Regions from separate parts of the Homo sapiens genome. Here regions 1, 2, 3, 4 and 6 are each linked to region 5. The links are contacts of gene promoters, found by promoter capture Hi-C in blood cells and fetal thymus (Javierre and others, 2016). All regions are on one chromosome and are shown on one strand. The core of a region is centred on a gene start or on the middle of the fragment in contact, and the rest is flanking DNA. Distances in the headings are between cores, read along the strand shown. Region 1 overlaps PIEZO1 (piezo type mechanosensitive ion channel component 1 (Er blood group)). Region 2 overlaps CBFA2T3 (CBFA2/RUNX1 partner transcriptional co-repressor 3). Region 3 holds the start of SPG7 (SPG7 matrix AAA peptidase subunit, paraplegin). Region 4 overlaps GALNS (galactosamine (N-acetyl)-6-sulfatase). Region 5 holds the start of ZNF778 (zinc finger protein 778). Region 6 overlaps SPG7 (SPG7 matrix AAA peptidase subunit, paraplegin).

Region 1 (3,123 bases), core at 357-2,856, 460 kb before region 5:
CCCTGAAGTTAAGATCCCCTCTTCCTCCCATTAACGCACCAAGCATAGCCATCGGCTCCATGCTTTTAAATCTAAAGTTTTTTGACGATTATACATTTTCATTAAAAAAAAAAAAAATCCCTAAGATCTGGCCCAAGAGGCAGGAGGAAAATGCATTCACAGCAAAGGCTTCTGAAGTTCTGAAGTTCTCCACAGCTGCACTTTTCAGCCGGGTGAGTTCTGCCCCAGTCCTGTCCCCAGAGAAGGTGGCACCTCCCCTCTGCACCTGTCCAGCCAGGTGGCAGCCGTCCATGCATCCGTCAGAGCAGAGGAGCTCACGGTCTGACCTGCCAGGAACGTCCAATGCTCAACAAGTGCACCAGGGTTGGGTTCGAAGCCCGTGGCAGGGCACCTTAGTGTGGTGTGGACACCAGGCAGGGCTCCTGGAGTCAGAAGCGTAGGTCCTGGGGATGAAGGTCACCAGACCCTGAGGCTGTGGGGAGGCCAGGGAGGTGGTGCCGTGCGTGCAGTTTCCTTTGGGAAAACGAAGAAGTTCTAGAGATGGGTGTCAGTGATGGCTGCACAACAATGCGAACATGCTTACCGCTGCTGACCTGTGCCCTTCAATGCGGCTAACGTGACAAACTTTAGGCCGGGTGTGGTGGCTGAGGCCTGTAATCCCAGCACTTTGGGAGGCCAAGGCAGGCGGATCACTTGAGCCCAGGAGTTCGAGACCAGACCAGGCAACACAGAGACCCCATCTCTACAAAAAAATTCAAAAATTAGCCGGGGATGATGGTGCATGCCTGTGGTCCCAGCTACTCAGGAGGCTGGAGCAGGAGGATCACTTGAGCCCAGGAGGCTGAGGCCGCAGTGAGCCATGATCACGCTGCCGCACTCCAGCCTGGGCGACAGGGTGAGATCATCTCAGGAAACAAAGCTTTATGGATGTATATTTTGCCAGAATAAAAAAATAACCAGCCCTGAAATCTGCAAAGGATTCTCAGAAGCCCGAGCCTGAGGCTGCAAGGGGCTGGGGCTGGAGATGAGGCGGGTGCAGGGGCTGAGGATGGAGATGAGGGAGGGGCTGGAGCTGGAGGCCTCCCTGACCGCCCTGCCCCTGGCCGAGCCAGAGGGGAACCTTGAGGGGCAGAGTGGACTCAAAGGCAGAGGACGATGGGGGCATGGGAGGCACCTTGGCAGGGGTTCCCCGGCAGGCCAACGTCACCCGGCAGGGCAAGTCCCCTGCCTGAGACCATGACCCACCACGGGCCTGCCCTGGGGTGATCAGCAACACGCCCCCCAGAGTTTGTTCACTCATTCATTCATCCATTCATCCATTCATCCATTCATTCATTCATTCAATACCAAGCAGGCCCCACCAGGCAGCGGGCTTGGTCTAGGGTCCGGGGACATGGTGGACAGTTGGACAGACAGCTAAGGCTTGTCCCAGGTGGCGGCCACTCACCAACAACACAGACAAGGAAAAGGCTCAGAGAGGAAGAGGGCTACTTAGCCCAAAGCCCACCCACCGCCCCCAGAGCACACCCACCGCCCCCCAGAGCACACTCACCCCCGGAGCACCCCTGCCCCCCCAGAGCACAACCGCCCCCCCAGAGCACACCTATCCATCCCCAGAGCACACCCCGCCCCCCAGAGCACACCTGTCCATCCCCAGAGCACACCAGCCCCCCCAGAGCGCACCCAGCCCCCCAGAGCTCACCCGCCCCCCCAGAGCGTACCCGGCCCCCCGCAGCACACCTCCCGCCCCCGGAGCACACCTGCCACCCCCAGAGCACACCCACTCACCCAAGGACGGGCTGAGACAGGAGGGCCCTGGCTGGTCCCTGGCGCCATCTTCTGTCAGCCTTGCCACAGACACCAAGCAGGGGCAGCCTCACGGGTGGGATGAGAAGGGGGCTCAGGGTCACAGCCCAGCCCACCACTTCTCCCATCATCTGGTCTTGGGGTCCTCGGAGTAGCCGGCTAGCAGGGCAGGAGTGAGGAGCACTCCTCCAATGCTCCAATGCCCCCATTTTCAGATGGGATGGGCTCTGAGAGGGGAGGAGCTCCCAAGAGTGGTCAGGACCCAGGTCCGGGCATCCCGGCCGCAGGGCCACGGCTTTTCGAAACACTCCTTGGATCTACCTGTGCTGTCTATGCAGCCGGCAGTGCTCTTGGTCTAAGTGTGTTGATGTGGCCTCAGCTGTGACTTTGTGGGCTAAAGCCAGAGGGGGAGACTTCAGAGCAGGCTGCCTGGAGGAGACGGCATTGCTTTTGGCCCTGAAGACTGGCTCCAACTCAGGGCAGGTCGGAAGCTTCGCAGATCAGGCTCAGGCAGAGAAGGAAGAAATTCAGCCAAAGGGGAGGCGGGGCCTGAGACAATCCAAGGAGCGGGGACAGGAGCCTGCCCTGCCCTGTGGCTCCCATGTTCCCATCAGGAGCTGCCCAGGCTGGGCCTGTGACCCCGTGGGGGTAATGCCTTTTCCTGAGTCAGCTGCAATGGGATGGGGTCAGAGAGAGCTGTGGTTCCCAACCCCCAACCCCCTCGCCTCACCAGCACACGCCTGACTATGGCCCACATCCAGCTCCTTGGGAAGCAGAGAGCCCAGCCATCACCCATCCACAGACCTTCATCCTACAGCTGAGAGGAGCACAGTCAGGAGGGGAGAGGCTGCCCCCACGGTAGCTGCTGGGCCCCTGGGTGTCCAAGGGCTGGGCTGGCCTCTGCTTTCAGTGGGTGCTGGCCAGGAAAGCCACAAATGCCACATGGTGGTAACCAGGACCACACACCACTCAACCGGAACATTCCACAAAGAGGGCTGGACACCACCCACTCCCACTGGCACATAGGAAGACCTGCCAGGGGATGTCAGATGCCTGAGCCCCCCTGCCAGGATCCAGTTCCTGGGATGAGACCCTTGCAGCTGACCCACGCCCGGGTGGGAGAGGAGAAACTGCCCAACCCTCGTTCCCTGTGGTGATCGAGGAGGAGCTGTCTGGCCTCCTCTAACACGGGCTGAACCAAGCCTGACGAGGCCTGAAGGACTGTCACAGGGAGGGCTGCCGGATGGGGCTTTCACAACCTGGACACCTCATACATGCTCCCTCCAGGAGCCACACAGAGACCCAAGGCCAGGATTT
Region 2 (3,007 bases), core at 183-2,682, 270 kb before region 5:
CTGGGAGAAAATATTTGGGAAACACATATCTGATGAACAACTGTTATCTAAAATATACAAAGAACTCTTAAAACCAAACCATAAGAAAACAAACAGCCCCATTAAAAATGAGCAAAAGATCTGAATAGACACCTCATCAGAGAAGAGATCTAGAAGATGATCTGGCAAATAAGCACAGGAAACGATGCCCAGCAGCCTTGCCACTAGAGAGTGGGTCAGCACAGCCACGAGAGGCCACGACACGCCTGTTAGAATAACTAAAACTCAACACACGGACAACCCCAGATGCCGGTGAGGATGTGAGGCAACAGGAGCTGTCATTCATTGCCGACGGGAATGCAAAATGGTACAGCCCTTTGGAAGACAGTTTGACTGTTTCTTATGAAACTACACACTTTTACCACGCCACCCAGCATTCACGTTTCTTGGTATTTACCCAAATGAGTTAAAAACTAATGTCCACACAAAACCCTGCACATTAATGTTGATAGAAGTTTCATTCGTTTTTACCAAAACTTAGAAGCGACTGAGACCGCCTTCAACAGGTGAATACATAAAATACTGTGGCATATGTAGACGATAGAGTGTTATCCATGACAAAAGTAGTGAGCTATCAAGCCATGGAAAGTGAACATTGATGGCCGGGCGTGGTGGCTCACACCTGTAATCCCAGGACTTTGGGAGGCCGAAGGGGGCGGATCACCTGAGGTCAGGAGTTCGAGACCAGCCTGGCCAACATGGCAAAACCTCGTCTCTACTAAAAATACAAAAATTAGCTGGGCGTGGTGGCGGTGCCTGTAATCCCAGCTACTTGGGAGGCTGAGACAGGAGAATTGCTTGAACCCAGGAGGCAGAGGTTGTAGTGGCAGTGAGCCAAGATCATGCCACTGCACTCCACCCTGGGCAACAGAGCAACACTCCATCTCAAAAAGAAAAAAAAAAGTGAATATTGCTAAGAAGTCAATCTGAAAAGGCTATATACTGTCTGATTCCAACTCAATAGCATTCAGGAAAATGTAAAATGATGGAAGTAGTAAAAAGGTCAGTGGTTTTCAGGGGGTTATAGAATAGGGAAGGTTGAGTAGGGAGAGCAGAGAGGTTTGTTTGTTTTTGGAGGCAGAGTCTTGCTCTTGTCTCCCAGACTGGAGTGCAGTGGCATGATCTTGGCTCACTGCAACCTCTGCCTCCCGGGTTCAAGCAATTCTCCTGCCTCAGCCTCCCGAGTAGCTGGGATTACAGGCGCCCACCATCACGCCCAGCTAATTTTTGTATTTTTAGTAGAGACAGGGTTTCACCATGTTGGCCAGGCTGGTCTCGAACTCCTGACCTCATGATCTGCCCACCTCGGCCTCCCACAGTGCTGGGATTACAGACACGAGCCACTGCTTCTGGCTGAGTTTTTTTGTTTGTTTATTTTTAGACAGGGTCTCACTCTGTCTCCCAGGCTGGAGTGCAGTAGCGTGATCACAGCTCACTGCATCCTTTGACCTCCCAGGCTCAAGCGATCCTCCCATCTCAGCCCCAGCTAATTGTATTTATTTTTTGTAGAGACAGGGTTTTGCTGTGTTGCCCAGACTGCACAGAGGATTTTTAGGGCAGTGACACTATTCTGTATGACAGTCTAATGGTAGACGCAAGTCATATGCTTGTCTAGACACATAGAATGTAACACCAAGAGAGAAGCCCAATGTAAACTATGGATTTCAGTTAATGAAAAGGTGTCAGTATTGGTTCATCGGTTGTAACGAATGTATCACACCAGTGCCAGGTGCAATGTAGGGACCCCCCACTAGGGAACAAGTCGGAAAGAGTAATGAGAACTCGGCGCTTTCCGCCCAGTTGTCCTGTAAACCCAGAACCACGCTAAAGAATAAAATCTATTAACTTAAAAAATTCAGCAGACAAAAATGAGGATATCAATGACATTTTATTTGCCGTTTAAAAGACAGATACAAACAGACTCTTCTGCAGCGCCTGAATCTCTACATGGCCCTTCTCTCCCTTAATGCCTCCTTCCATTCTACCCAGCCGATTTTTATCCTAATATGTTTTCATGTTTGAAAGTCTTTTGATTCCCCTATCGTACAAAACTAGGTACATAGTTGGAATGTCAAGATTTAAACATTTTCCTATGTTAAAATTTATTTCCTGGGCTGGATTATCGTTATAATTATTGGTAGTATACAACCGATACAAACAATGTGAATGTATTACACATTTTGAGAACTAATAAGGATACAAAGTAGGCTGGGCTTGGTGGCTCACACCTGTAATCCCAATGCTTTGGGAGGCCAAGGAAGTAGTATCGCTTGAGCCCAGGAGTTCAAGACCAGCCTGGGCAACATAGCAAGACCTCATCTCTACAAATAATAAAAAAGTTAGCCGGGTGTGGTGGTGCGTGCCTGTAGTCCCAGCTACTCAGGGGGCTGAGGCAGTGGGATTGCTTGAGCCCAAGAGGTTAAGGCTGCAGGGAGCTATGATCACGCTACTGCACTCTAGCCTGGGTGATGGAACGAGACCCTGTCTCAAAAATAAAAATAAAGATACAAAGTAAATTTTTGTTGGAAGACATCTCGTAAAAGGAGGGAGGGGCACTTTTTGGTAGTAGTTTGTGTATTCATGCATGAATAATACTGCCAGAAAAAGACAGGATTTGACATTAATTCCATTCCCGTGGTGGGTGTTTAATGTGAAAGCCAGAGAATCTTCAGTCCCATAAATAACTCGATCAGAACGGGAGCTGTGTCCTAACCATCTCACTGTGACCTCCTTCTGAGAGTCAGATGCCGCAAGCCACGTGGTGATTGGTCATCAAAGTCATTTTTAATAACTATCAGCTGACAAATCGGTTCTGTCCCCCCTCAATTCTGTTTCATGCAAAGACAAGAAATCAGCAGGTTGCAGCAGAGACACATTCGTGGCGAGTGGGGAGCTGGGGGCAAGGCACCAGGCTGGCCCCAGGCAGAGAGACGTTGGTCTTTCTTGGGGAACTGGGAGAGGGTGACTG
Region 3 (2,986 bases), core at 131-2,630, 290 kb after region 5:
ACAGAACACCTCCCCAGCCCCGAGCACCTCTGCCGAGGCACCCGGCCCACTGGAGGGCTGAGGGCGGATAACCACGATAACTGAAAACACTTTCCTGAGCGTCTCGGGGCTGAGGAAGAGGGAGGATTACACGCAGCCCACTGGCTTTGCAACCTCGTCTGTAGTGGTGGAGTGAGTGCAGGTCCAGAAACAAACCAGACCGGCCTTGAAATTCTGCCCTAACTTCAGAGCTGTAATCCTAGGCAGGTTACTTTTAATACTTCTGAATCTTTCTTTACATGTAAAATAGAGGTATTGTATTCGCTGCACAGGGTTGTGAATATTACATGGGTGTTCGACACGGAGCTAGGCACTCGGTGATGTTGGCTGTCGTCACTGGCATTCACTGTTACGAATTTGCGGAGTACAGAAAAGCATAAAAATAAATAGGTCACCCTCATCCTACCTCTGTGACAGACCATCTAGTCTTTGCTTTTCCTACTCAACAAGCTTTCCAGCTCTTGGCGTCAGCTCTAGACCTAAGGCGGACGGAGGAAGGGGTCGGGGTGGCGGAGGACCCCGCGCGCCTGGGAGCCCACGAGGGACCCTGCCCGGGCCCGGAGGGCGGACCCTGAAGAGAACAGAGCCTCTTCCTAAGCTTCCAGACGGCGCCTCCCCGCTTCCTACGATGGGCTCGCGCAGCGGCCGGGGCAGGACCGAGGCTCGAAGCGCCTCCGAGGTGAGCCAGTCCGAAGGCACAGGACGGAGCGCTCCGAAGTCAGAGGTGTGCGGGACGAGCTCTGCAGACGCCTGCCAGGCCGCGCCGCACTGCGCGCTCCCTCCCTCACGACCCTCCTCCTCCGGGGCTGCCCTCCCTGCGGCGGCTGCAACTTCAGTCCTCGTCCTCGGGCGGCTCAAGACGCAGGAAAACCGCCCCCTTCCTGCGCTCCTCACACCCGAAGGGGCCCTCCCGACCCGAGGCCTCCGGCGCCGCCCTCCTGAGCGCGGGCCTCTACTCGCAGGCGGGATTCCGGCCCGCACCATCCGCCCTCGCCTGTGACCGAACCCTGCGGGTGACGCAGGCTGCCCGGGCGTGAGGCCCCTCGGCGCGGGCGGAGCACGACCACGCAGCCACGACCCGGCCGGTTATTCACCCGCCAGGCCCTGGGAATACAAGGCCGGCTTCAAAAAAACCAGGGCACCCGCGACCTCCTCGCAGACGCGCGCCCCCATACCCGGGCCTCAGGCAGCCACGAGGTAGACGGGCTCAGGCTCGGGGGTGCGGCAAGCGGCACCCGGGCGCGGCGGGGCGCAGCTGTGGGGACCGCGCAGGCGCCACGTCAGACCCCGCCCACCCCGCCGCGCAGGCGCCGTGTAGCGCCCCGCGGATCACGCAGGCGCGGCTTTCAGGCCAACATGGCCGTGCTGCTGCTGCTGCTCCGTGCCCTCCGCCGGGGTCCAGGCCCGGGTCCTCGGCCGCTGTGGGGCCCAGGCCCGGCCTGGAGTCCAGGGTTCCCCGCCAGGCCCGGGAGGGGGCGGCCGTACATGGCCAGCAGGCCTCCGGGGGACCTCGCCGAGGCTGGAGGCCGAGCTCTGCAGGTAAATCCCCGCGGAGTCCGGGCCCCACCTCCCGCCCGGCTCTGCTCTGTAAGGCCCAGCCCGGCGGGGCGGGTCGGAGGCCGCCTGGCCCCTGCGGCGGGGGAGCCTGCGCCTGTGGGCCCGCGGATCCCCCAGCTGTGGACCTCGGCGCGGAGCGACTGTTGGGGCCCTGGATCGTGGGCGCTGGGCGGGCCGGGAAGAGGCAGGGCTGGGATCCGCGCAGTCCTCGGCGTGGACTTTCCCAACCCGTCTGTTGTGTGTGGATGTTCTCCGCCCGTCTTCCTCGCCTTTTAAAGTGGAATCCAGTAACGGTTTCCGGCGTAGCACTAATTTACAGTCCACGCCTGTGGATCGATTCCGTCACCAGGAATTCCAGCGCCTTCCAGTTAGGGTGGTTATTGCCGAGTAGGGGGCCCAGAACGTTTCTGTGTCCGCAAAATACCCTGTAGCTGCATTTTGCTGTTGTCATGTAGCTCGGCACGTTATTGATACAGTCATTGAGCACCCCCTGTAGTGCGGCCTTGTTTCAGGTTCTGCTAAGGATAGGATAGCATCTCCTCCCGAAAACCAGACCTTGTGTCCTTCAGCTTTTGGGCTGATGTTTTTTTCTCCTAGCCCTCGCCTAGGAGCTTAGCCCACACCTTTTAGGTTGTTGTTTTTTCGGTTATTTTTGAGACAGAGATCTCGCTCTGTCGCCCAGGCTGGAGTGCAATGGTCTTGGCTCACTGCAACCTCCGCCTCCCGGGTTCAAGCGATTCTCCTGCCTCAGCCTCCTGAGTAGCTGGGATTACGGGTGCGCGCCACCACACCCAGCTAATTTTTGTATTTTTAGTAGAGACGGGGTTTCACCATGTTGGCCAGGATGGTCTCCATCTCTTGACCTTGTGATCCGCCTGCCTCGGCCTCCCAAAGTGCTGGGATTACAGGGCGTGAGCCACCGCGCCCGGCCATAAAACATATTTAAATGGGAAAATGTTTATCTTGAAAGGAGAACTCTGAAAGTATATACTTGTTAACTGGTTTGGTACCTGGAAATGTTCTACAAGGAGCCACTCTCTGGTGACAGCAGGAGCCCCGTGTCTGGGCAGCCACTGTGGCCTTTGGAGAGCTGGGCTGCTCCCTTTCTCCTGCAGAAGCTTCAGGCCATGGGATAGCAGCCAATGTACTTCTGTGTTTTGTTTTCTTCTTTTTTTTTTTTTTTTTTTTTTGTGACAATCTCGCTGTGTCGCCCAGGCTGGAGTGCAGTGGCCTGATCATGGCTCCCTGAAGCCTCTGCCTCCTGGGCCCAAGCAATCCTCCCACCTCAGCCTCCCAAAGTGCTGGGATTACAGACATGAGCCACCGTGCCTGGCCACTATCGTGATTTTTTGTTTGTTTATTTGTTTGTTTTTTGAGATGGAGTTTCCCT
Region 4 (2,904 bases), core at 405-2,904, 360 kb before region 5:
GGCACCAGAACTACGTGACGCATGCACAAGCTTCAGTAGCCGATTCGATCTAGTGGAAGAAAGGGTATCAGTGATTGAAGATCAAATTAATTAGCCGAGTGTGGTGATGGGCGGCTATAATCCCAGCTACTCAGGAGGCTGAGGCAGGAAAATTGCTTGAGCCCAGTAGTTTGAGGCTGCAGTGAGCTGTGATCGAGCTACTGCACTCCAGCCTGGGTGACAGAGCCAGACCTTGTCTCAAAAAAAAAGTCCTGGCTGGGTGTGGTGGCTCATGCCTGTAATCCCAGCACTTTGGGAGGCTGAGGCAGGCAGATCACCTGAGGTCAGGAGTTTCAGGCCAGACTGGCCAATATGGTGAAACCCCGTCTCCACTAGAAATACAAAAATTAGCTGGGCACGGTGGTGGGAGCCTGTAGTCCCAGCTACTCGGGAGGCTGAGGCAGGAGAATTGCTTGAACCTGGGAGACGGAGGTTGCAGTGAGCTGAGATCACACCACTGCAATCCAGCCTGGGTGACCAGAGTGAGACTCCATCTCAAAAAAAAAAAAAAAAAAAAAAAAGGCCTAAAAGCCCCCAAATGATTGTCCACGTTCAGCGAGCACAGCTGTGAGCCATGGATCAGTATCCTTCAGAATTTCAGAGTTTTAAGAAACGCAGTTTCCATTCCTACTGGTTGCTATGGGATTATTATGAAGACGAGCAGGCCAGTGCTTGTCTGTTTCAAACGAGGGGCACTGAGCAACCCTCCCCGGACTCTGGTGGCTCGACGAGGCTGCTGTGGCAACAGGAGCTGGCCTGGGTGGCCCTGACTCTCCACTTCCTCTGTGGTCAGGGCTGACCCTCCTTAACCCTATTTTCCAAATAAGGAGTGGAGACACAGAGTGCTGCTCGCCCTGGGAGGCAGGAGCTGTGTGTGGGCCAGAGTGGAACTTGTCACTGGGTCTCACCTGTCTCCAAGGCCCCAGAAGCCCTGGAGAGCAGAGTGGGCCACGCAGGTTTCCTCACTCACGCAGCAGGTGCCCAGGGTACTACGAAGCCAGGCCGCGCTGGACCGTGGGTCAGTGAAAGGCCAGGGCAGGGCAGCCCTGGGGAGTGCAGGTAGACCCGTCCTTGCCCGGCTCAGCTCCCCCTGGACAGGTGGGGGCTCTTGCCAGCTGCTCTCACCCCTGAGTCCCAGCTTCCCCTTCTGGTCCCGACTCTGGGGGCAATGGTTCTCTCCCGGGTCAGTGTGACCAGTTGGAGAGTGGCTTCTGGCCATGAGGGGTGCAATAAGCTAGTTTTGGGGACAACCCTTTTCTGAAACTGCACTTGCTTAGACGAAAGGGGGGCCCAGGCCCCCCACTGCCCAGCCACAGAGGACTGGATAGGGGGAGACTGGGCTGGAGGCAGCCGGTCCCTGGAGGGCCATGCTCCAAAATCTGAACTTGAGACATGCACACTCGTCCTCAAGTGGTGCTGGGCCCAGAGCTGTGGGTCATCAAGCCATCCCATGTCATGCCAGAGGCCGAATGACCTGTTGCAGGTTCAGACGCCAGCGCCCTGGCAGAAACAACCGGTCTGCAGTGCAGGAAGAGGTGTGGACAGGGCTGCGGAGGAAGCCCCGGACTCCAAGGAGAGAAGACAGCCTGTGAGGACCCCCTTGCACCCTGGGCCACGTCAGGGCACCTCGGGGCTCCACTGTGAGCTTCTGTGGCTCTCACCTGCCAGCATCCCTGCCCTGTCCTGGCAGCTGCACCATGGGCCCTTCAGGGAACCCCCTCTCTGCTGGGTCCAGGCAGATGAGATGATCAGGGGCAGTCTCCCTTCTGGGGTAGGCCCGAGGCTCCGAGGCCTGGGCTGGACAGGTCAGCATGTGCCCCTCCCCCAGTGTGCTTGGCGCAGGGCTGAGACCCACATCACGCTAACATGACACGGGCAGAGCCAACCTCCCACTGGGTCTGCTGACTGCAGGGGTGACTTGGAGTCACCTAGGACCATCACAGGCTGAGTGAGGATGTGGCCAGTTCAGAGGCAGCAGAGCCACGAAAGGGGAAACTCGCCAGGCGGCCCTGGTCTGTCGACTCAGGAGGGCCAGGGAATCCCCACTGTTGCTTGTCACTTTGACTTCATCTTCTGCTGTCTGCATCAGAAAGTCCTTACAAGTACACCTACCGGCCAGGACACAGCTCCTCTGGGGTTCTTTAGGCGTCAGCTGCCAAACGACCCCACAAGCCACACAGTGGAGGCCACAGAACAGGTGCCCAGGTGGGCGGGGCTTCCTGTCACCCTCCCCCACATGTGCCCCGGTGGCCACACCCCACCCCTCCACCCTGCACGGCCTGAACCCTTGCTGTCCTATGGAAACGTAGGGTGAGTCCACATGCAATTCCCTATTTACCGGGAGCCACATTAGAAAAGCAGAAGTAGGTGAAATACAGACTAACTTTATATTTTATTTAACCCAACATAACCAAAATATTATTTCGACAAGTCTTCAACATAAAAAATTATTCATGAGCTGCCCCGCCTCACCCCTCTGTCCTCTGAGAAAGTCAGGAAAAGCAGAAACTTAACAGGGAGGCTTCACCTGCAGAGCCCAGCTCATCCAGCGAAGCTATGCTGGCCCAGAAGGAGTTACACAATGAAAAGAAGAAATTCTGAAACAAAGTATCTACACTGGCCCAGAGGAACTTCAAAAGTGAAAGGATGAAATTCTGAAGCAAAGTATCTTTAGGAGGGAGATGCCACTCAGTGCAGAGAAAGGCCCGGCTACTGCTGTCAGGACACGGACCCCTGGGCGCTGGAGAGCGTGCTCTGGAAAGCAGTCACTGCACACAAATAAGACATATGAGATGGAAAAGCAGCTGCCCAGGACTGTCGGCTGTCACCCCTGGGTGGGGAAATTATGGGTGGTGTCTGTTATCT
Region 5 (2,789 bases), core at 139-2,638:
TAGCATGTGGTTGCTTTGTATACTTCGTGAAATTGTGTCCAATCTCTGCTAGCCATAGATAAGATAAATCCTGGGGCTCTAAAGACTGCAAGCCGTTGCTGCCCTTCAGAGCTTTGTGACTCAGACACCTGTCAGGCTGCTGAGAAACGTGATCTAGTCACGTCAGCCCTCCCCCTGTCTGATCTCCTTCTTCTCTGGGAGTTCTCTGCGCGCCCCCCGCCCACGCTCATTTTTTTCTCTTTTCTGAGTAGTGACCCCCAATTCGAAGCCTGTGGGTAATCTCATGGTGCGTGAGACTCCCTCACCCTCCAACCTGTCAAAGCTTGTGCGCCACCGCCACCTCCTGGGCACATCTTGTTTCTTAATCAGCCACGAAATCACGTGAACACTTCACATGTGGTTTTGTTTTGTTTTTCACATTTAGACTCCTGATCCGTTTGGAGTTTATCCCTGTGAGATCCAGAATTAATTTCATCATTTCTCAGACGGCTAACCATTTGTCTTAGCACCTTTCATTATAAACTGCATGTTTGTTCCACCGCTCTGAAATTATGTTTATGAACCAAATTTCCATGTTACTGGGTTGATGTCTGGATATTCCATTTGTTTCCTGTTCATGTGTCACTAGCACACAGTTTTAATGACAGAGGCTGTTTTCGCATCTGTCGGGCATTGCGCTTTTGTTTGTCCGCGTCGTCTGCGTTATGAGACATTTGTTCCTCCATGTGAACTCCAGGATCAATATGCCTGGTTCCAAAAAAAAAACCTTTTCGTATTGTTACTGGAATCATGTGACATTTCTGAATGAACCTTGGGAGAACCCCTGGTATCAGTGCTATTTTGCAACGTAGTATAGGTGGTCTTGGCTCCTACGGTACATTAGAAAAGTAACAGAAACGCATATTTGAAGCGAAAAATAGATGAACATTTACAGAAAAAAAAAATACCACATTGAAAATGCAGTGGAATCAACTGTTAAAAGTTCGGCGTGATGTTCAGACAGATAAAAAGGAACGGGGCCAGTGACTCCCTGCAGAGATCGAGAGAAGACCGAGCACTCCCAGCACCCGCGGGCTTCTCGCTGTGACCGAACCGCGGGCCGCGCTCGCGACGAGCACTTCCTGGCTGTACCCGCCCAACCGCGCCCTCCTGGTCTGTTCCGGCTCCGCAGTTGCGTCCAGAGGCCTGATCCTTACGTCCGCCTGGTCCTCCGGGCCTGTCTCTGCCTCCAGCCCGGTTCCCAAGGGCGCCCCGGGGCCCTCCCGCACCCTCGCGGAAGAAACTACTACCTCCCCGCACCATAGGCCAAAGCTTCGGCCCGGAGGCTGGAGGCGGAAGTGACGCCAAAGACGCGCCGGCCCCTCTTCCGGCGCCGGCCCCGCCTCCGCCTGTCTTACAGCTGATCCGGTTCTTGCGGCGGTGCGTGCTGGCGCCGGAGAGTTCCGCGCGTGTCCTCGGGCTGTCCGCGGGGAAGCTGGTCCGGGAGTGGGCGCCCGCCCGCCTGCCTCGCGCCTTGCGCCCCCGGCACCGCTTCCAGAAGGGAAAGTCGCCGCCGCTCGCGGTAGACCCGGGCAGCGCTTCCATTCCGCGGAGCTGGTGAGAGAGGGGCCCTTTGCTTCCTTCACTTTGAACAGGGCGTGTTTCTGTGAGAATCTGGCTTCGGCTTTGACGTTTTTTATTTGTTTCTGGCACATTGTGTTGGGACCGAAGCGTAAGGTAGACCCCTGAGCGCCCCGGGCGTGCAGCTCCCTGTGAAAGTTAGCCCGTGGGGGCCAGCGGGAGCGCGCGTCCCTCGCCGCCGGGACTTCCAGGCCCGGCCCTCGGGGCGGGAGGGATGCGGCCGTTGTCCCGCTGGTCTTGGAGTAATCGAATCCACGGTGAACAGTGTGTTTCGACTAACTGTATTTTTTCTCACGTTTTGCTTTAGAAAATCTGAATCTAATAAAAATGTGAACATCTGCTACAAGGAATATCCACTGCAATCGTTTTACTCCTTTTTAGCTTTGGGCCATGTTTTCTCTCTCCCCCAATAAATAAACCTTACGGTGAATTATTATTTGAGTGTAAGTAAGTTGAAATTAAACTGCACACATGATACTTAACCTTTAAATACTTGGTAAAGCGTCTGTTAAGGGTAAGGACATTATCCTACTGAAACCACAATATTAGTATTTCATCTAAGAAAATTAAAATTAGGCCGGGCGCGGTGGCTCACGCCTGTAATCCCAGCACTTTGGGAGGCCGAGGCGGGTGGATCACGAGGTCAGGAGACCGACACCATCCTGGCTAACACGGTGAAACCCCATCTCTACTAAAAATACAAAAAATTAGCCGGGCGTGGTGGCGGGCTCCTGTAGTCCCAGCTACTCTGGAGGCTGAGGCAGGAGAATGGCGTGAACCCGGGAGGCGGAGCTTGCAGTGAGCCGAGATGGCGCCACTGCACTCCAGCCTGGGCGACAGAGCGAGACTCCGTCTCAAAAAATAATAATAATAATTAAAAATAATAAGGTCCGCTGGGCACAGTGGCTCACGCCTGTAATCCTAGCACTTTGGGAGGCCGAGGCGGGTGGATCATCTGAGGTCGGGAGTTCAAGACCAGCCTGACTAACATGGAGAAATCCCGTCTCTACTAAAAGTACAAAATTAGCCTTGCATGGTGGCGCATGCCTGTAATCCCAGCTAGTCGGGAGGCTGAGGCAGGAGAATCGCTTGAACCTGGGTGGCACAGGTTGCGGTGAGCCAAGATCGTGCCATTGCACTCCAGCCTGGGCGACAGAGCAAGACTCCGT
Region 6 (3,126 bases), core at 506-3,005, 330 kb after region 5:
GTTGCGTTTCATGAGTCGGGCCACGCCTTGGTGGGCTGGATGCTGGAGCACACGGAGGCCGTGATGAAGGTGGGTCTTGGCAGGTGCCGGCTCCACGGGCCTTGGCCAAAGGTGGGTGGGGAGTCCCGCCTGTGTCTGTAGCTGACTGGGGAGTCCCGCCTGTGTCTGTAGCTGACTGGGGAGTCCCGCCTGTGTCTGTAGGTCATGTGAGAGGAAAGCCTGCCACTGTCATGATCCATGGAGCAGGGTGGGTGGCGACTGATGGGCGGGAACTCGGACGTGGGAGGCAGGAGTGGGCTGTGTCACATCGGAGCATGGTGCTGCTACTGGGGTGACTCGTGGAAGGTTACACCATGCAATGGGGTTTCGCTGCCTTTGCCTGTCCACCCCAAATGACTCCTAACATTGGAAAGAAGTGAGTTGAGTGTACATTTAAAAAATACTATTCTAGGCTGGGCATGGTGGATCACCTGAGGTCAGGAGTTCAAGACCAGCCTGGCCAACAGGGCAAAACTGTCTCTACTTCAAACAAACAAACAAAAAACTACTCTTGTAGGCAGCTGTGAACTCGATGGACATTTATTCTTACCAAATGGTGATGTTACAGCTTCTCTAAGACGTGGCTCCACCACCGGGAGTCCGAGTGCTGCCAAGAGGAGGTCTCTACTCGGAACGCAGGTGCCGTCTTTACAGTGGAGCCCCAGGAAGCCGTGCAGGTTTGAGGCTCACCTGAGAAGGCGGCAGTGCTGTGTTCCTACCTCAGGGTTCACTGCAAACAATGCATACGCTGTAGCAGTTGCCAGCTTGGTTTGTCAGTGCTGGTCTCCGTGATTGGTTCTCAGGTGTGAGTTGTAGCAAAGTTGCGTGTTAATCAGAGAGCGTCCTGCCCATCCCAGGGTCTCAGCAGGGCTGAGGCAGCGTTTGGGGACCAGATCCGTGCTGCTCCTTGGCGATGTGCACCACAGTCATGGGACCAGAGCTAGGCCCACTGTGGGGCGAGTGGACACTCAGCTGGGGGTCCCATTTATGGGACACTAAAAAACTCAGCAGTGAACACGACGTTTTAACACGGTATGTCAAGAAATCAAAATTAATGCAGGGACTTTGGGAGGCCAAGGCGGGCAGATCACTTGAGGTCAGGAGTTCGAGACCAGCCTGGCCAACCTGGTGAAACCCCATCTCTACCAAAAATACAAAAGAATTAGCTGGGCGTGGTGGTGCGTACCTGTAACCCTAGCCACTTGAGAGGTAGAGGCACAAGAATCGCTTAAACCCGGGAGGCAGAGTCTGCAGTGAGCCAAGACTGTGCCACTGTACTCCAGCCTGGGTGACAGAGCAAGACTGTCTCTCAAAGGGAAAAAAAAAGAATTTTTACTGTATTTGATGGGCAAAAGTCAGATAGTCACAATGAAAAAGTGAGTCTCTTTCCCAAGGCTCAGTGTCCTGCCAGGAAAAGGTTGTGAATTGGCTGTTATGGTTTTGGTCATTAATGCAATCATCACTGCAGCCGTTATTTAGAGCTTCTTTTTGTTTTGAGACAGGGTCTCTCTCTCTGTTGCCCAGACCGGAGTCCAGTGGTGCGATCACAGCTCACTGCAGCCTCGACCTTCCGGGCTCACACGATCCTCCTACCTCAGCCTCCTGCATAGCTGGGACTACAGGCATGCCCCACTGGTGGCTCGAGTGATTTTTATATTTTTTGTAGCGAAGGGGTCTCGTTATGTTGCCCAGGCTAGTCTCGAACTCCTGGGCTCATGCAATCTGCCCACCTCTAACTCCCAAAGTACCGAGATCACAGATGTGAGCGACCCCGCCCAGCCTAGTTTTAGATTTTAAATTAAGCGTCCTCGGGATTCTCAGAGCACTTGGATGTGGCCATCTCGCCGCCACAATTCTCAGAAGCAGCAGCTGGGCCAGCCCCTGCCCCGTCTCCGTCCGTCTCCCACTCAGCGGTTCCGTGTTGTCGAGTTAGCTCGTTGCCCCGCGCCACCTCCTTGCACACCTGATGTGGGGCTGTGGGGGAGCAGCAGAGGTGAGGACAGCCTCTGCTGCCTCAGCATCGTGGGGTTCTCATTGCTCTGAACCCTCAGTAGCTGTCGCTGGTGTGAGGGGTCAGCGCAGCGGCCATCGGGGGTGAAACTTGTCCTTCGCCTCTCAGCTGTCTTCTACGGGCCTTGTCTTCTTGACTCCCTGCCTGTCTAGTCATGTATGAGAAGACACTTCCCGGCAGTGTGTGAACAGGCACCTGTGGTGGGAACGCTGCTGTCTCTGGGCTGGCCATCTAGAGTGTTAGGATCCCCTGTTGTTGTAGAGGATGCTGCACATTTGCCTTCCTGCTTTGAGACGCTTTAATGACGGAGACCTCTTAGTCCCACACCTTCCTCCTCAAAGCCCACGCATCCTGCCTACTGACCTGGGTCATCTTGACCTTGTGCCAGGTCTCCATAACCCCTCGGACAAACGCCGCCCTGGGCTTTGCTCAGATGCTCCCCAGAGACCAGCACCTCTTCACCAAGGAGCAGCTGTTTGAGCGGATGTGCATGGCCCTGGGAGGACGGGCCTCGGAAGCACTGTCCTTCAACGAGGTCACTTCTGGTGAGGAGCAGCGGCGCGGGCCCTGGAGGTTTCAGAGCGCTTTTCCCTGCATGACTCCTTCTGTTCCAGTGCATGCCATGGGGTGAATCTGGTGTAGACGTAGCTTTGAATTTATTAAGTATTTTGTAAAAGATAAGTTGTGGTCATAAGAGAGTTGGAGCTAAGCAAGACTTCTTAGATAATTTAATTGGACAAAAACTTAACCTATATGCCAACTCTAGACACATTTAATTGGTTAATTGTTGGTAATGGCTACAGGAAACGGAATAAAATTGAAGCGGCTTCATTGTTCTGAAGCCATTACTGCACTGGGATATCCAGAGAGCTGAAGGAGGGTCCCGGGGGCCCCTGGGCTCCAGGTCCATGGGTTTGCCTCGCATAGGCCTGGGCTTGTGCTTGAGAACTGCCATGCAGTGAGCTCCAGTATGCCCCCGGGTTCTAGATTTCCAAATAAAAGAGCATTTCGGAAAGTTTTAAGACTCTCTTAAGGAACAGTGGTGAGGTGCCAACGTCCTCACTGTCCAGCTTCAC

The links. Contacts are between HindIII fragments. The CHiCAGO score rates a contact against its expected background, and 5 or more counts as called.
Region 1: a fragment that was not itself captured here is called in contact with the fragment with the promoter of ZNF778 in region 5 in 4 of 17 cell types (monocytes, neutrophils, fetal thymus and 1 more); the score reaches 8.7 in monocytes.
Region 2: a contact is called between a fragment that was not itself captured here and the fragment with the promoter of ZNF778 in region 5, in 11 of 17 cell types (naive CD4 T cells, activated CD4 T cells, total CD4 T cells and 8 more). The highest score is 12.4, in naive CD4 T cells.
Region 3: the fragment with the promoter of SPG7 here is called in contact with the fragment with the promoter of ZNF778 in region 5 in 2 of 17 cell types (endothelial precursors and megakaryocytes); the score reaches 6.3 in endothelial precursors.
Region 4: a fragment that was not itself captured here is called in contact with the fragment with the promoter of ZNF778 in region 5 in 1 of 17 cell types (naive CD4 T cells); the score reaches 5.1 in naive CD4 T cells.
Region 6: a contact is called between a fragment that was not itself captured here and the fragment with the promoter of ZNF778 in region 5, in 2 of 17 cell types (endothelial precursors and total CD4 T cells). The highest score is 5.7, in endothelial precursors.

The regions. Positions count from the first base shown.
Region 1 is chr16:88,751,572-88,754,694 of GRCh38, forward strand. The region is part of intron 1 of PIEZO1 (piezo type mechanosensitive ion channel component 1 (Er blood group)); the gene reads right to left. Among named protein-coding and RNA genes, the nearest start is that of PIEZO1-AS1, 10 kb to the left of the region's middle. The HindIII fragment of the contact is 1,378 bases long and covers 918-2,295 here.
Region 2 is chr16:88,945,387-88,948,393 of GRCh38, forward strand. The region is part of intron 1 of CBFA2T3 (CBFA2/RUNX1 partner transcriptional co-repressor 3); the gene reads right to left. All of the region lies in intron 1 of LOC100129697 (a long non-coding RNA gene), which reads left to right. Among named protein-coding and RNA genes, the nearest start is that of CBFA2T3, 30 kb to the right of the region's middle. The HindIII fragment of the contact is 3,830 bases long and covers 1-3,007 here.
Region 3 is chr16:89,507,023-89,510,008 of GRCh38, forward strand. SPG7 (SPG7 matrix AAA peptidase subunit, paraplegin) reads left to right here and starts at 1,381. Exons shown (of 17, transcript NM_003119.4): 1 at 1,381-1,578. The coding sequence starts at 1,396. It overlaps LOC101927863 (a long non-coding RNA gene), which reads right to left and starts at 1,298. Exons shown (of 5, transcript NR_188547.1): 1 at 1,215-1,298. RefSeq lists silencers at 695-764, 885-1,094, 1,165-1,724, 1,755-1,874. The HindIII fragment of the contact is 2,077 bases long and covers 636-2,712 here.
Region 4 is chr16:88,852,716-88,855,619 of GRCh38, forward strand. The region is part of intron 1 of GALNS (galactosamine (N-acetyl)-6-sulfatase); the gene reads right to left. It overlaps LOC107983950 (a long non-coding RNA gene), which reads right to left. Exons shown (of 2, transcript XR_933884.3): 2 at 2,413-2,904. Among named protein-coding and RNA genes, the nearest start is that of GALNS, 2.8 kb to the right of the region's middle. RefSeq lists a silencer at 2,226-2,295. The HindIII fragment of the contact is 3,253 bases long and covers 29-2,904 here.
Region 5 is chr16:89,216,315-89,219,103 of GRCh38, forward strand. ZNF778 (zinc finger protein 778) reads left to right here and starts at 1,389. Exons shown (of 7, transcript NM_001201407.2): 1 at 1,389-1,596. ZNF778-DT (ZNF778 divergent transcript) reads right to left here and starts at 1,339. Exons shown (of 1, transcript NR_186410.1): 1 at 1-1,339. RefSeq lists enhancers at 1-221, 1,171-1,220, 1,745-2,275, 2,276-2,789. The HindIII fragment of the contact is 2,087 bases long and covers 1,310-2,789 here.
Region 6 is chr16:89,550,541-89,553,666 of GRCh38, forward strand. It overlaps SPG7 (SPG7 matrix AAA peptidase subunit, paraplegin), which reads left to right. Exons shown (of 17, transcript NM_003119.4): 13 at 1-69; 14 at 2,439-2,595. Among named protein-coding and RNA genes, the nearest start is that of RPL13, 8.6 kb to the right of the region's middle. The HindIII fragment of the contact is 5,190 bases long and covers 1-3,126 here.